Linked DNA regions of Homo sapiens: region 1 is linked to region 2. Evidence: promoter capture Hi-C in human tissues and cell types (Jung and others, 2019). All regions are on one chromosome and are shown on one strand. The core of a region is centred on a gene start or on the middle of the fragment in contact, and the rest is flanking DNA. Distances in the headings are between cores, read along the strand shown.

Evidence for each region. The method cuts DNA at HindIII sites, captures the fragments that hold promoters and counts their contacts. A contact is called where the count stands out against the background at its distance.
Region 1: a fragment that was not itself captured here is called in contact with the fragment with the promoter of METTL2B in region 2 in 3 of the 25 tissues and cell types used here (H1 embryonic stem cells, spleen and stomach).

What each region holds. Positions count from the first base shown.
Region 1 is chr7:128,548,724-128,551,751 of GRCh38, reverse strand. No RefSeq gene overlaps it. Among named protein-coding and RNA genes, the nearest start is that of METTL2B, 73 kb to the right of the region's middle. The HindIII fragment of the contact is 6,373 bases long and covers 1-3,028 here.
Region 2 is chr7:128,474,745-128,478,067 of GRCh38, reverse strand. It overlaps METTL2B (methyltransferase 2B, tRNA N3-cytidine), which reads right to left and starts at 1,320. Exons shown (of 9, transcript NM_018396.3): 1 at 1,193-1,320; 2 at 895-986. The coding sequence starts at 1,302. RefSeq lists enhancers at 1,044-1,213, 1,434-1,483. The HindIII fragment of the contact is 14,580 bases long and covers 1-3,323 here.

The DNA.
Region 1 (3,028 bases), core at 402-2,901, 73 kb before region 2:
GGTGGCACAGGACTGTAACCCCAGCTACTTAGGAGGCTGAGGTAGGAGAATCACTTGATCCTGGGAGGTGGAGGTTGCAGTAAGCCTAGATCGTGCCACTGCACTCTGGCCCGCGCAACAAGAGCAAAACTCTGTCTCAAAAGAATACAATACAATACAAATGTCAAATTGGCTTGACTTTAGCTCAACTTTTATCAACTCCTAATAGATGAAAGGATTTCAACTCCCTGTAGTAAAACTTACCACAAACTATCTAAAGCTCTCATTAATAAAATTGGAGAAATAAAGTACTGCTTAATAAATTCAGTCTAATAATGGGGGAAAAAGCCTTTTAAAACATGGTCTCAAGAGTGGGAGGAATAACAGTAAAAGGTTGGGAATTAGATTTAGTCCAGTCTCTTCCACAATGACTTTCCACACAACATCTCTAATAATTATGTACATAGCTTCTGCTCAAATACTTCCTGTAAGAGAAAAATACTGTGTAGAGAAAAACAAAGCAGTGTGCTTAATTCAGGTCAACTAACTACAAGTCAGTGGTTTCTTTAACCTATTTTGAGTCACAGAATTTTTTTTTTTTTTTTTTCTGAGACAGGGACTCACTCTGTTACCCAGGCTGAAGTGTAGAAGTGCAAATACAACTCACTCTAGCCTTGACCTCAACCTCCAAGGCTCAGGTGATCCTCCCACTTCAGCCTCCTGGACAGATGCAGATGGGACTATAGGCACATGCCACCATGCCCGGCTAATTGTTTGTATTTTTTGTAGAGATGGGGTTTCACCACTTTGCCCAGGCTGGTCTCAAACTCCTAGGCTCAATGGTCCTCTTGCCTTGGCCACCCAAAGTGCTGGGCCTCGCCACTGTGCCTGGCCAAAGAACTTTTTTTTTTTTTTTTTGAGATGGAGTCTCGCTCTGTTGCCCAGGCTGGAGTGCAGTGGTGCGATCTTGGCTCACTGCAAGTTCTGCCTCCCGGGTTCACACCATTCTCCTGCCTCAGCCTCCCGAGTAGCTGGGACTACAGGCGCCCCCCACCATGCCCAGCTAATTTTTTTTGTACTTTTAGTAGAGACGGGGTTTCACTATGTTAGCCAGGATGGTCTCAATCTCCTGACCTCGTGATCCACCTGCCTCAGCCTCCCAAAGTGCTGGGATTACAGGCATGAGCCACCGTGCCCAGCCCCAAACAACTTTCTAAGAACGTAATAAAACCATGGACTCTTTCTAAAGAAAAATATACATCCATGTATATACACACACAAATATTTACCTATCATTTCACAGAGTTCAAGGACCCTGATGCCTGTCCACCCCTTGCCATACTTGACCATGGGAGACAAATTCCCCCTCTCCATGGAGAAGAATGTGGCCATATCTACTAAAATTACAAATGCATATATCCTTGAAAAAAGCAATTCCATTTCTAGGGATTTATCCCGTAAATGTATCTGAATGTGTGTTAAATGACATTATGTACAAGATTATTCACTATAGCACTATTTATATCAACAAAACACTGCTGTCCATCTAAGTGTCCATCAACAGGAAACGGTTCAGCCATACAATGAAATACAAAGCAGCCTTGAAAAACAGAACAAGGAAGCTCTATATGTATGAATGTAAAACAATTCCTGAAATATCTTAAGCACAAGAAGCAAAATGCACAATAGTTTATATAATATAGTTGCATTTTTTAAAAATGGAAGGGTTGAATATACAAAAGTATTTGCAGATATATCTCTCAAATATAAGAAACTTTATAACAGTTGTCTCTAGGAAGGAAACCAGGTGGATAAGGGAGAAATGTAGAAGAGATGTTTCACTGTATATCTGTGAAAGATTCTGAATTGTGTACTATATATTAACTAGTAAAAAATTTTAATTTTGGGGCCAGGCATGGTGGCTCACGCCTATAATCACAGCACTTTGAGAGGCAGAGGTGGGTGGATTGCCTGAGCTCAGGAGTTCGAGACCAAAGCCTCGACAACACGATGAAACCCCGTCTCTACTAAAAAACAAAAAAAAAATTAGCTGGGCATGGCGGTGTGCGCCCATAATCCCAGCTACTCGGGAGGCTGAGACAGGAGAATCGCTTGAACCTGGGAGGTGGAAGTTGCAGTGAGCCGAGATCATGACATTGCACTCCAGCCTGGGTGACAGAGTAAGACTCCGTCTCCAAAAAATATATATATATATAATTTTTAAAATTTTTTACCACATACCTAGACTTCAAGGAAACTAATCAAGATTAATTATTTAAAAACACGTCTCGGCCAGGCGTGGTGGCTCACGCATGTAATCCCATCACTTTGGGAAGCTGAGGCGGGAGGATCACTTGAGCCTGGGAGGCGGAGGTTGCAGTGAACCAAGACTGCGCCACTGCACTCCAGCCTGGGTGACAGAGCGAGACCCTATCTAAAAATAAAAATAAAAAATAAAAAAGGCCTCTGCCCTGGACTCTAAACTCTTTTGCTAAGCTTCAAAACCAAGCTATCCTGTACTCATCATTCTTTAATTTATTCCTAATAATATTGTATCAAAATTGTTCTGAGTTTTTTGTTTTTTGAGATGGAGTTTCCCTCCTGTTGCGCAGGCTAGACTGCAATGGTGTGATCTTGGCTCACCACCACCTCATGCCCGGCCATGAGGTTGTTTATCTACAGTAATCGTTTCCCTTTTTTTTGGAGATAGGGTCTTGCTCTGTCACCCAGGCTGAAGCGCAGTGGTGCAATCTTGGCTCACAGCAACCTCCGCCTCCCGTGTTCAAGTGATCCTCCTGCCTCAGCCTCCCAAGTAGTTGAGGTTACAAGTGCCCACCACCATGCCCAGCTAATTTTTGTATTTTTTAGTAAAGACGGGGTTTCACCATGTTGGCCAGGCTGGTCTTAAGCTCCTCACCTCCAGTGATTCACCTGCCTCGGTCTCCCAAAGTGCTAGGATGATAGGCATGAGCCACCACACCCAGCCAATCTACAGTAATCTTAATTCTGCTTTCTGAGCAATACACAATGAACAAGTTAATTATACTCC
Region 2 (3,323 bases), core at 71-2,570:
CTCACCTGCTGAATCAACCAAGACTCCCTAAGAAACAGGATTTTAGTTCCACTACTGCTACTACTGACTGCTTACCTCTGGGAAAAGCACTTAATGTCCTGTGGTCCAAGTGTCTTTAACTATAAAAAGAGAATATTGAACCACATGATTTTCAAAATCCCTTTTAACTATTAACTTGCTTTGATCTAGTTGCTGTCAGACTATGCAGGGTGAATGTTTTGTAACTGGAACCTTTTTGTTGTACAGAACTCTTTCAGCAGGTACTAAATTTGTAGTGCTATCTTCAATTGTCTGGAACAATCAGTCCTAGTTTTACTATCTAGGGATATTTTGCAGTGAAATCATCAACCTCTCAAGCAGGGGCCTCCTTTTCTTTGGCCAGACTTATCTCCACTCTGCTGCATCCACCTTTCCTTGACTGAAGCCCTAAATTCTCATAACCATCACACAAGTAATAGACACACAGTCACCAGTCATTAGCCCCCCTCCCAACAATATTTAGAATCTAATCACTTAAATGAAGCTTCAATGGAAACATCTCCTCATGGAAAATGCAAATCATGTAAAAAGTACAGGTTCTAAGATGATCGCGTGACCACACAGTTGTCATTGGCTAGCCATATCAACGTGGATCTACTCAACATAATTAAAGACAAAATTACCCTCCTCCAAAGTAAAACTATATATTAAAAAAACCCTCTACGACTTAAGATTTTGTTACAATGCAGCCCTTTTCCCTCCTTGCTCATCCCCTCCCTGTCCTGCTCTACTCCTGAGATCCGCATCAGGCCAGGAATAAAGGATGTGGGCGGCCGCGGTTCCCTGGCCTCTCCGGGAGGGCGCGTTCGGCAGTACGCTGGCTGTTGATACCAACGAGAGCCCATTTAAGCGCACCTTGTTTCTCCTGGCACACCCGCTGGATACTGTTCTCCTGGACTTTTCTCTCCGCCGCCGCGGCTTGCTCTTCCGACCACTCCACATTGTCCCTGAGAAAATCAAACGGGCAGCTTAGGGGCTTCACGTCCTGGCTGCGAGCAGGGTGAGTCGCTGGCCTAGGAGTTTCTCTCCCCTTGGAGAGTGCCTCGGGTAGGGCAGCTTGACTCGTGGCCGGCGGTCAGGGGCTTTTCGGAATGCTCCGAGGCGGCGGGACAGACGGCCAGCGACAGGCCGGGCGAGGGGGCAGGGTGATTACCAGGCATTGTGGTGGAAGACGCGCGCCGGATCGCTCAGGAACCGGCTTCCGAACTGCTGCCTCTTATCGGCGAGGATTGCAGGTGCACCTTCAGGGTAGGAGCCGGCCATGACACCGGAGCCGGAAACACTTCACTTTCCGTAACGCGAGAACTTCCTGCGGGCCACGCCCTCTTTCAGAAGACGTGGAGTCTGGGCGGGAAAAAGGGTGGCGGGACAGGGCGGTCCTGGAGTCTGGTCCGGGTGGCGCTCGGGAGCTGTCGTTTGGGGCTTTCCCAGGGTTGGCGAAGGGCTCTCTAGGGAAGGGGACCAGGCAGGGGGAAATTCTCCCCGGAGGAGTCGTATCTCATTGATGAGGTGCTGATGGACGTGCAGGTTAGGCAGAAAGTGGGAGACATTCCACTTGAGGCCCAGTTCATTGCTGGGATCCTCTTAACAGGTTCCCCAGCTTCCCTCAAGTTGTAAAACAGGAATAATCTTGAATCATTATAAGAGTTGAGGCTACCTAGTTCCACTGCGGAGCCGATGTCCAGAACTGAAGAAGGTAGCAAGCAGCGGAAAGAAACAGGGCAATTTCCAGCTTCTATAGTCAGCTCTTCATAGTGTGGGTGTATATGTATACACAGTGTGTATATATATTTTGGTTGGGGTGGGGGAGATGGATATATGAAATTAGAGAACACGAGGCTTAGCAAATCAAATGGAATATCCAAGGACAATTTTTTTTTAATTATAACCATCTAACCTTTTTGAATCATCCATATTATATTTATTATAATTATCCTTATTAGCACAATTAAGATTGTAATACACACATACAGTTTGTCATAGTAATACATTTCAGCCTTACATTTCTATTTCTAGATCTAATACAAATAGACTCTCAAAAGAATCTAGAAGAAAGTATGTTATAGACATAAGGTTATTTGAGAAGACTTCCAAGAGAAGCATGATGAATACCACTTGGAAAAGAAGGAAAGGGCAGAGACCAAACAAGGACCAGCCCAATATCTCTTGGACTTTATTTAATGTCATAATGTCAGAATAAAGGGAAAGATGAATTTTTTTAAAAAAGGAAAGGGTTAGTGCAGTGCTAGACATAGCACATTGGTAATTAGTACTTTTTTTTTTTTTTTTTTGAGACGGAGTCTTGCTCTGTTTCCCAGGCTGGAGTGCAGTAGCTGGATCTCAGCTCGTTATAACCTCCATGTCCTGGGCTCAGGTGATTCTCCTGCCTCAGCCTCCTGAGTAGCCGGGATTACAGGTGCGCGCTACCACACTCGGCTAATTTTTGTATTTTTAGTAGAGATGGGGTTTCACCATGTTGCCTGGGCTGGTCCTGAACTCCTGACCTCAAATGATCTGCCCACCTCGGTCTCCCAAAGTGTTGGGATTACAGGTGTGAGCCACCGTGCCCAGCCAGTAATTGTTTATTCCATTGTAAATTCTTTCTGTAGGTAAAACTACAGGGAGCAATGAATGATTCTATACTTTTCCTCCAAAGAAATGGGAACAAGCTCTAAGCCTCTCTAATCAGGAAGAAAAATACACAAGTTAATCAAAAAGATAGTAAAGAAGTTGTACTTCATTTGAAGACAATATGCTTTTGCCATTCTTGTGGTCTTTGGAAACATTTTGAACACAAGCTCCATACCCAGAAACAAGTACAAGGAATTTTTATCTTTTCTCAAGGCCAGCTGTTTGCAGATATGGTGGTTGATTTACATTTATTTCTGGCATCTTGTTTTCTCATCTGTGGGCTTTTATTCTCCCCTCACTAAAAGCTGTTAGTGTTCCCAATCAACAGTCCCACTGGATATTTTCTTGCAGACAGCTCATTGTCTTCACTTGAATTTACTATATTAGTTCCAATGGAGACATTTTAAATGTCAAACAGCTTTGGCCTTTTTTCTATGAAATGTGCTAAAGTATCCTAAACTTAATTTTATTTTTTATTTTTATTTATTTATTTATTTATTTATTTTTGAGACGGAGTCTCGCACTGTCTCCCAGGCTGGAGTGTAGTGGCGTGATCTCGGCTCACTGCAAGCTCCCTACTTCCCGGGTTCACGCCATTCTCCTGCCTCAGCCTCCCGAGTAGCTGGGACTACAGGCACCCGCCACCATGCCCG